2 separate regions of the Homo sapiens genome follow, and region 2 is linked to region 1. The links are contacts of gene promoters, found by promoter capture Hi-C in human tissues and cell types (Jung and others, 2019). All regions are on one chromosome and are shown on one strand. The core of a region is centred on a gene start or on the middle of the fragment in contact, and the rest is flanking DNA. Distances in the headings are between cores, read along the strand shown. Region 1 holds the start of ASZ1 (ankyrin repeat, SAM and basic leucine zipper domain containing 1). Region 2 overlaps LOC102724495 (a long non-coding RNA gene).

The links. Contacts are between HindIII fragments. The study calls those that stand out against the background at their distance.
Region 2: a fragment that was not itself captured here is called in contact with the fragment with the promoter of ASZ1 in region 1 in 1 of the 25 tissues and cell types used here (lymphoblastoid cells).

Annotation. Positions count from the first base shown.
Region 1 is chr7:117,425,040-117,430,160 of GRCh38, reverse strand. It overlaps ASZ1 (ankyrin repeat, SAM and basic leucine zipper domain containing 1), which reads left to right and starts at 2,668. Exons shown (of 13, transcript NM_130768.3): 1 at 2,668-2,805; 2 at 3,226-3,325. The coding sequence starts at 2,701. The HindIII fragment of the contact is 3,572 bases long and covers 50-3,621 here.
Region 2 is chr7:118,304,213-118,309,333 of GRCh38, reverse strand. All of the region lies in intron 1 of LOC102724495 (a long non-coding RNA gene), which reads right to left. Among named protein-coding and RNA genes, the nearest start is that of ANKRD7, 82 kb to the right of the region's middle. The HindIII fragment of the contact is 4,734 bases long and covers 68-4,801 here.

The DNA.
Region 1 (5,121 bases), core at 1,419-3,918:
AGTCCTAGGAAACTAATTCAGATAGTACAGACTTACCAATCTTGTTTATCCAATCATCAGTTGATGGATATTTGGGTTGTTTCTACTTTTGGCTAATATGAATAATGCTACTATGGACATTCATGTACAAGTACATTTATTATGTATTTGGAATTAATTTTGTAAAAGGCATGAGACTTAGGTTGAAGTTCATTTTTTACCTAAAGATATTCACCTGCTTCACAACTATTTGTTGAAAAGACTATCCTTCCTCCATTGAATTGCTCTTGCACCTTTATCAAAAATTAGTTTGTCATACTATATGTACTTGTGTGGTGCTATGTCTAGGTTTTCTATTCTGTTCTATTGGTCTATATCAAAAAATCCTGAAATCAAGGCTACACATGAGTCTTGAAATCAAGGAGAGCAATTCTTCCTTCTTTATTCTTCTTTTTCAGAATTGTTTTAACTATTTTACTTCCTTTGCCTTTCCACATACAATTTGGAATAATCTTATCCATATTTATAAAAAAAATCACTTGGTAAATCCTAAGGTTTTTAAAAACCAATTGTATGTGGATAACTCCCACATTTATATTTCCAAGACCAGGCTTCCTCAAGGTCCACACATGAATATCCAACTAACCACTTAACAGCTACACTTGGCTGCTTGGTTTTGAATATGTTAATTTGGGGATGCCTATTAAATCTTCACGTTTATCCACTGGTCTTCCCCCATCTCAGTAAATGCAATGACTACTTAGCCAGTTGCTCAAACCAAAAACCTTCTCTACAATAGACCTAGAGTGTCTTTAAATACATACACACATCAGAACATGTCTTTCATTAGCTTAAAAACATTTCACTGTTCAATTGCTTTCAGTAAAATCCAGATTCCTACTTAAGGCCCACAAGGACCTCTCATCACACACGCCTATCCTTACGAAGCTGTAGCCTCAGGCCTTCTTTCTGGTCCAAGCAGGACAAGAACTAAGGTAAGTGAGGTGACCCAGGAGCAAAATTTAAAAAGGCACTCACTGAATTTGCAGGACCCTGACAGTACTTCCTTAAACTTTGCTTCTTAGGGGACTCACTTGCCCCAGCCTCACTTGCCCCATCCTGGTCCTGAGTTGCTTTTTTCTTGCCTTAGGACCTTGGCACTATTCCTGTCCACTGCCAGGAAAGCTCTATTCTCCCACTCTTATATGGCTTGTTATTTACGACTCTGCACAGTTCTGACTATCCTATCTAAAATCTACCTCTTACATTGAGAAAGACCTTATTCTAAGCCTATTACTTCATTTAGTCCTCATAACAATTCTATTTGGTGGGTACTATCATCACCTCCATTCTACAGATAAGTTAGCTGGTACCCAGATAGATGCTAAGTAAATTGCCTAAGGGCACACAGCTACAGCTAGTGATTCCCCCAGGAAACACAAAAGTGGTTTGATTCCAGAAACAGAGCACACTTGTTTCTTTTGAAGCACTTACAATCTGCAATAGTGTTTTTGTTTCCTTGCATATTGTCTATCTCTACTTATTAAAGTGAGCTCCATAAGGCTCCATGGTTTATCTTTGACGTTGTCTCCCCAAACCTAGTAGCACTTGGCTGTGCTAAGTAATCCCTAGCATTTATTGAATGAATGCATTTAGAAAGACAGATGTGGCACGCAAATAGCTAAACTACTTAAAAATACTTACCTCTGAGCCTCTAAAGTAAATAATTTCAAAATCTTTTATCAGAGAATCTGCAAGAAAAAAACCGCAAAAGCTTTCAAATAATAGTGCATGGCTATTATCTTGAGATACATATAATATGCCCTGTTTCTTGGTGGATCTACTTTTCTGTGGTGGCAAAGAAAATCACTGTGTTACCAACATCTAGAAGTTCTACCATCTAGAACCATGTAGAAAGGTGAGTTCGAGCTTGGGCCACTTCCACCTGGAGTTGTTTGTATTATTTGCTCTCTGGACGTTTAAGTCATTTCTTTCTTTCTGGCTCTTTGGATCCACTGTACCCGGAAACCCCCTCCTTTCATATTTTCCTCTAGGACATCTACACTTCATAGCGGGGAAGTGTTTTGATGGTCTGAAGCTTCTAAATCTAAGGTGAGATCTAAGATCACATGAAATGTAAAGGAAGAATTCTTTGGGGCAGTATTTTCTCCTGGCTCCTTCGTCGGCTCCTACTTGCGTAAGGGCTTCTTGAATGTCTGAGTGGTGCTCCTGAGAGAGGTGTTACTACGAAGAGTCCGTCTCCCAGGGGATACAGATTTAACAGACGTTTGGCAGGGGGCAGATGAAAAGGATGGCGGGGAAAGTCTAGTCTTACTTGCCGTTAAATCCTAGTGTGCTCCTGCCACAAGTAAGGCATTCCTTGCAGAGCAAGAATTTCATCATTTCATCAAGCAAATACTTTAAAGAGGTCGAAAGGTAAGTCCCTGAGAGGAACTGGAAGTGCCAGCAGAAGCCTGGCGCACGAACTTCGTCACCAGTGTCAGACACGCCAGGTTTTCACCTCAAGAAGCCTCAAGGTTAGGGAGGGACGGGGCAGGGAGGAGAGCAGCGCGCCGCTGTGCGCCTGCGCTGGAGGGCTCCAGACTGGAGCGCTTCCACGGCGCTCCTTCCCGCGCATCTCTACGTACGCCCCACCCCGGTGCGCATGCGCCCGGAGAGCTGAAGGGCGCGCGGTGCCGACAGGGAGCTTCCTTGGCTGGCATGGCGGCGAGCGCGCTGCGAGGCCTGCCAGTGGCTGGCGGAGGCGAGAGTAGCGAGAGCGAGGATGATGGCTGGGAGATTGGGTATCTCGACCGGACGTCTCAGGTAGCGGAGGAGGCCTTGTCTTGACCACACCTGGTTTCAGCCTCCCCTGGCCCTCGAAGGCGAGGCCCAGCCTCGTGAAACCTCCTACTCCCTCACGTGTATTTCCCTTTTACCCAGTGGAAATACGGGAGTTTGTACTTAAGCAAACCCGCACAAATTTCCTCGTGTTCCCTCCCCAACTGTGGTTACCACCAAATACGCTTCTTTAGGTCATCGTAACTCCTCAGTTGGGTTTGGATCCATCATTACCTATTCCCTTGAAAGATAATTTTCGACACGAATTCTTTTCAAACTTTGTATCTTAGTCAAAATAAAGCCAAGAAAAAAAACCTGTGTACTTAACCAAACATTATTGTTTCCTGATGAGGTGGAAACAAAAATATATATAACAAGAATTTTTTAAAATGTTTACTTTTCTAGAAATTGAAAAGGCTATTACCCATTGAAGAAAAGAAAGAAAAATTTAAGAAAGCAATGACCATCGGAGATGTTTCATTGGTCCAGGAGCTCCTAGATTCTGGTGAGAGATAAGGGACAGTTTCATCTGAACACAGCTGTCTTAAGTTCGCAAGGATTCTTTATTTTTAAAAGGTTTATGTTGCTTTTCTAATGGAAACGCAACAAATGTTAATGTATCATCCTGCATAATCTTCGTTGACTGAGTCCAGTCTGCCTTATTTTCTTCCTCTCTGCTTGCATTTGGAATGCCACCCTGTTTATCTTCCATCAGTTCTTCCCCCTCCTTCAAGCAAGAGGCCTACTCTAATCCTATCCCACTCTGATCATTCTTAATTCTCTCTTCATTTACTCTGCTGTAATGTTGTTTCTTTTTTCTTTTCTTTTTCTTTTTTTTTTTTTTTTTTTTTTGAGATGTTATCTTGCTCTGTGGCCCAGGCTGGAGTGCAGTGGCGCGATCTTGGCTCACTGCAATCTCCACCTTCGGGTTCAAGCGATTCTCCTGCCTCACCCTCCTGAGTAGCTGGGACTACAAGCGCGTGACACCACGCCCGGCTAATTTTTTTTTTTTTTTGTATTTTTAATAGAGAGAGGGTTTCACCGTGTTAGCCAGGATAGTCTCGATCCTCTGACCTTGTGATCCGCCTGTCTCGGCCTCCCAAAGTGCTGGGATTACAGGCATGAGCCACCGTGCCCTGCCTGTTGTATGTTTCTTAAGAAATGGTTCTACATTTTAGTTCTTTCTCGTTACAGTTTTTTGTTTTGTACTGGTGGAATGAGGCCTGAGCTAGGAATCAGAATAAATATATGGATAATTTCTTCCAGTTTATTGCCCACTCTGGTTTCTTGGAAGAGGCATTAAAACTTTGAGAGCATCAGATTTCATTTTTGGGGGGTTGAAGGAAGGGGATGGAGTGTCTCTCTCTAGCCCTGCTGGAGTGCAGTGGCACCATCTTCGCTCACTGCAACCTCCATCTGGGGGCCGGGATTCAAGTGATTCTCCCACCTCAGCCTCCGGAGTAGCCGGGACTAAAAGCACCGGTCACCAAGCCCAGCTAATTTTGGTAATTTTAGTAGACACGGGGGTTTCACCATGTCGGCCAGGCTGGTCTTGAACTACTGACCTCAAGTAATCACCCACCTCGGCCTCCCAAAGTGCTGAGATTACAAGCAAGAGCCACCGCCCCCAGCCAGAGAGCATCAGTTTCTTTATGTAAAGCATCATAATTCTGTCCTGGGCTTCATGAATTTTTTGTGTATTAAATAAAAAAAAAACTTTAAATTACCTTCACATAGAAATGTAAATTATTGATTATAATGATTGAAATTACTGGCCGGGCGCGGTGGCTCACGCCTGTAATCCCAGCACTTTGGGAGTCCAAGGCGGGCGGATCACGAGGTCAGGAGATCGAGACCATCCTGGCTAACACAGTGAAACCCCGTCTCTACTAAAAAACACAAAAAAAATTAGCTGGGCGTGGTGGCGGGCGCCTGTAGTCCCAGCTACGCGGGAGGCTGAGGCAGGAGAATGGCGTGAACCCGGGAGGCGGAGCTTGCAGTGAGCCGAGATCGCGCCACTGCACTCCAGCCTGGGCGACAAAGCGAGACTCCGTCTCAAAAAAAAAAAAAAAAAAAAAAAAGAAATTACTCAAAGGAATAACAAGCATTTACTTCAGTTTGATGCAAAAATAATTGTGGTTTTTGCCATTGTAGATACAAAACATTCACACACAAGGTAGTTAGATGTGATTATATATAGCATAATGTTTTTCTTCTATGCTAGAATCAATGCATAGTTTACTGAAAAGTAAATAATTTTGAAAACAAGACAGATCTGGGTTTGATTACTAACCATGCCAC
Region 2 (5,121 bases), core at 1,185-3,684, 880 kb before region 1:
CCTTGCTGCTTTGTGCAGTTTTGAGACTTGGCGTCATGCATCCCAGCTGTGGCTAAAAGGGGCCAAGATACAGGTCAGGTTTCAGAAGGTGCAAACCCTAACCCTTGACATTTCCACATGGTGTTGAGCCTGCAGGTACACAGAAGTCAAGAAATAAGATTTGGGAACTTCACCTAGATTTCGGAGGATGTAAGGAAATGCCTGAATATTGAGGCAGAAGTTTTCTGCAGGGGTGGAGCCCTCATGGAGAACCTCTGCTAGGGCAGTACAGAAGGAAATGTGAGATCAAAGCCCCCACACAGAATCCACACTGGTGCACTGCCTAGTGGAGCTGTGAGAAGATGGCCACCATCCTCTAGACCCCAGAATGGTAGATCCACCAACAGCTTGCACTGTGTGCCTGGAAAAGATGCAGATACTCAACGCCAGCTCATGAAAGCAGCCAGGAAAGGGGTTGTATCCTGAAAAGCCATAGAGGTGGAACTGCCCAAGGCCATGGGAGCCCACATTTTGCATCAGCATGACCTGGATGTGAGACATGGAGTCAAAGGAGATCATTTCAGAGCTTTAAGATTTGACTGTCCTGCTGGATTTCAGACTTGCATGGGTCCTGTAGCCCCTTTGTTTTGGCCAATTTCACCCATTTGGAATGCATGTATTTACCAAACGCCTGTACCACCATTGTATCTAGGAAGTAACTAACTTACTTTCGATTTTACAGGATCATAGGCAGAAGGGACTTGCCTTGTCTCACATAAGACTTTGGACTTGGACTTTTGGGTTAATGCTGGAATGAGTTAAGACTTTGGGGGACTGTTGGGAGGCATGGCTGATTTTAAAATATGAAAGGGACATGAGATTTTGAAGGGGCCAGAGCAGAATGATATGGTTAGGCTTTGTGTCCCTACCCAAATCTCATCTTGAATTGGAATCCCCATAATTCCCATGTGTCAAGGGAGAGACGAAGTGGAGGTAATTGAATCATATGGGTGGTGTCCCCCGTGCTTTTCTCATGATAGTGAGTGAGTTCTCACAAAATCTGATGGTTTTATAAGGGGCTCTTCCCCCTTCACTTGGCACTTCTCCTTTCTGCCACCTTATGAAGAAGGTGCCTTGCTTCCCCTTCACCTTCCATCGTGATTGTAAGTTTCCTGAGGCCTCCCAGCCATGCTGAACTGTAAGTCAATTAAACCTCTTTCCTTTATAAATTATCCAGTCTTGGGTATGTCTTCATTAGCAGTGTGGGAATGGACTAATACAGAAGGTAACCTCTTCTCCCCATTACCCAGGAATTAGCAAACATATTAACGAGAGCACCAGTGGGCTCCTCCAGGTAGGTAGTATGGATGTCACTATACTCTTTTTGGATTTTAAAATAAAGTCAGCCCAAGAAAACTAGAGGACAGGGAGGTAGCAGGGTAATCCAGCCTGATACCATTCAAACATAGTTTACAGTTTATTTCTCCAGCAGCCATTACATATTGGTATGAACAAATTAGATTCATGAGCCATTTAATTGAAAAAAATATCACTTTAGATAATATACTTTCGCTGCATTCCCTTCATCACATTAATTGTCCTCCAAAAAATGGGTGTTATTCCGTAGATGATGGTTATACTAATGAATTCCAAGTATAATTATGATAAAATCATTTGTTCTAATTTAATACATTTAGAATATGTGGTAATTAAAAGAAGAAATGAGCTAAGTTTATCATATCAATATTAAAGAGTCACCAAGAAATTGGTAATAAAAATATAGATATAGCAAATTTTATTTCTTTTGTTTGTTTGTTTTGAGACTGGGTCTCCCTCTGTCACCGATGCTGGAGTGCAGTGGCAAAATCATAGCTCACTGCAGCCTCAACCTCTCAGGCTTAATCAATCCTCTCATCTTTGCCTCCTGAGTACCTGGAACTATAGGCACACACCACCATGTCCAGCTAACTGTTGTATTTTTTGTAGAGACAAGGTTTCACCATGTTGCCCAGGTTAGTCTCAAACTCCTGGGCTCAAGTGACCCACCCACCTTGGTCTCCCAAAGTGCTGGAATTACAGGCCAAATTTTGTTTCTTAAAAAACAATTTAAAGCCTTGCAGATGTATTGCAAACAACTCATTAGTGTCTGTGCCAGGTGTAGCTAATTGTCTGGGCTGGTGGTTTACTGTATTAATTATACTGGGTTGAATAGTGTTCCCCAAAATTCAGATCCATTCAGAACCTCAGAATGTGACCTTATTTGTAAATAGGGTCTTCACAGATGTAATTAGTTAAGATGAGGTCATACTGGACTAGGGTGGGCCCTAAGCCAATGAGTCATGTCCTTATACAGAAGAGAGAAATTTGAACACAGGGAGATACATGGAGAGAATGTCATGTGAAAACAGAAGCAGAGATTAGAGTGATACATCTAGACGACAGAACACCGAAGATTGCTGGCAAATACCAGCAGCTGAGAGTCATGAAACAGATTCTCTCTCAAGGTCTTCAGAAGGAACCAACCTGCCAGCTCTTGATTTCAGACTTCTAGTCTCTAGAACCATGAGAGAATACATTTCTGTTGTTTTAAGCCACACAGTTTGTGGTACTTCGTTACAGAAGTCCTAGGAAGCTAACCAATCATGAATTATTTCCACTTGATATAAAGGACATTTAATAACAACATATTTTATTAAGCTTATTTGTATAACTATAAATTTAGAATGAACTAACTTTCTTTGAATAAATTTTGCAATTCAGTGTTTTCATTCATTCAGATCAATGTTCTATCAATTATCCACGTTAGTAAGTAAGGTTCTATTAATATTTTCAGTTTTGAGATATCTTTTTTTTCTAAAGAAATGGCACCCTGTTGTTTCAACTCTTGCCTACTGCCTTTCAGATGAATTTTCAGATAATGGAGATCTAGAAATCAAAGCAAGAGACTGTCACTTACTTATCTTTCTAGGACTATTTTATTTCTGGTTTAATTATTATGGAAGTCACCCTTTAAATCCCTGATTCAGTAATCAAATGAGTTTCTCAGAATAACAGATTTCATACATGGTATTCAGGTCACCTACTCATTACATCTAATTTGATGGCATTGGAGTGGAGGAGTCATTCCCTAACAGTGTTCAGTCACTTGCTTTCCCTGTGAAGTTGACTGAATTTTAAAACTGTTGGTCAGGAGCAATTTTTTAGTCAATTCTTTAAGAAGGCAAAGAAAAAAAAAAGGTTCATTGACTTTTTTTGCTGTTGTTAGTCTTTTTGCCAGAGGGTATCAGTGTAAAGTGGCAATCACACAATTCTTAAAGGCTAAAATAAAAATTGTTTTTAATATTAGCATTGTCTAGCCAGTACTTTCCACCTTGCTTACAATGCAGCACACATAGAAAAGAATTGCATTCATACAGCAAAACAGGGTAACTGGAAAAGGATGTAACTGACCCGTTCACAGCACAGTGTTGTACAGTGAATCAACAGATAGGCAGGAAGCTCTGACCAGGCTTTCTATTAAAGTATTGGGAAACACATTGCTTTCTGTGTATGCTTTTTACTGTGGGCTTATTTAAATCTCTCAAATAAGATAACTAAAAGACAATTCCCCTATTCCTTAAATTCAGCAGGATTTGCTTATTTAATAGCATTATCTGCAAACTTATGACATACATCAAATATAAATATCTTCATATAATTTATTTACCTTTTCTTCTCTTTTAACTCAGCGCATGTAAGGCCTTTTTTACCCTCCATTTGATGAAGGGTGAAGTGACAAATCCAATGCAGGACTACAAATCTTGCATAATAGTCATGTAGACTCTAAATCAATCTTGCATTAAAATCATAAATCTTTACAAAGGTGCAGCCATTATAGGAATGATCCAAAACAGTTGTAAAATGTTCATTCCAAGCATTTGTGCTAATAGCTATGTGATATAATTTATCCTGCTCTTCTTATAAGCAAAGTATCATCCTTATATTTCCTTTAGAAAATATTACAAATTAACTTTCCCTCAACCACACCAAGTTTGCATCCCCACAGAGGTCAGATAACTCACTAATTTACCTAATTTATTTATTTTTTCTGACTATATTGACTGGTTCTTATTTTGTCTTCATGACACCATGCTCAAGAGCTAGCAATGGGGGAGAAAAAAGAGGAGGATTTGAGGTATGAAGAGAGAAAGGAGAGACAGATTCGATTCAAGAATAAAATCAAAATTAAACTTGAAATTCCTAATATTCTAAAATATTTATGAGTTATATATTCCTATTCTTAAGAAAAATATATTCATAACAATCTAGTCTCCTAAAGATAAATTCTGTTTATATATATATATAAATTTAAATGAATACATTCATGAAGAATATATCCATATATAGAATATATTCATGAATAATATATTGTTAAGAATTTTTTATAATCAAAAACATGTCTTTATGCCTGTCAGTCTTTCCCTCCCTCTGGCCCTTGGTCTTCAGCTGCAGTAGAAACAAAAAGAACATTATTTAGTAAACTGGGGGAGAAGCAAATGGATCATTATTTTAAAAGCTATCATGAAGACAAAATGAAAACCAGTTAACTAAAATTAATATAGTTAAAAGAAACAAGGTCATTTGGCCAATTGGCCACTTGATGAACTGACTTTTGGCTTATTGACCTAGAGCTCATTTCTACATAAGCCTGGCTCTTCTAAAGTGACATCAGCCAAACTTTTAATAGAAATTGGTGGGAGCCAGGTTATGCTTCGTTTATGTAGATAATGGTCTTCTCATCTGGCCCCTATTAGAGCATGTTTTGATATAATCCTCATTTGAGATCCGTTTATTCTTGACATCTTTCTCTCTCCACCCAGTTATTATCTTATCACCTAGTTTTTTTTTTCTGTTCATTGAGAACAGATTTACAGAGAGAATCACAATAAATAACCTTCTATCCAAATGATAGATGCAAGAAGCAGATAAAAAGGAGAGTCCGTGGAGCATCCTCAACCCACCAGCACACTGGGAGAATGGGGTGGAGCTAAGGGAAGTTCATGCCTTGTGCAGTGGGGAGGAGCCTGGCCTCTTTAGCTCAAGAGTGGTGGCTTGGAATTCAGTATGTGAGATGGCAGCCTGCTTGCAGGATCCCCTCTCATT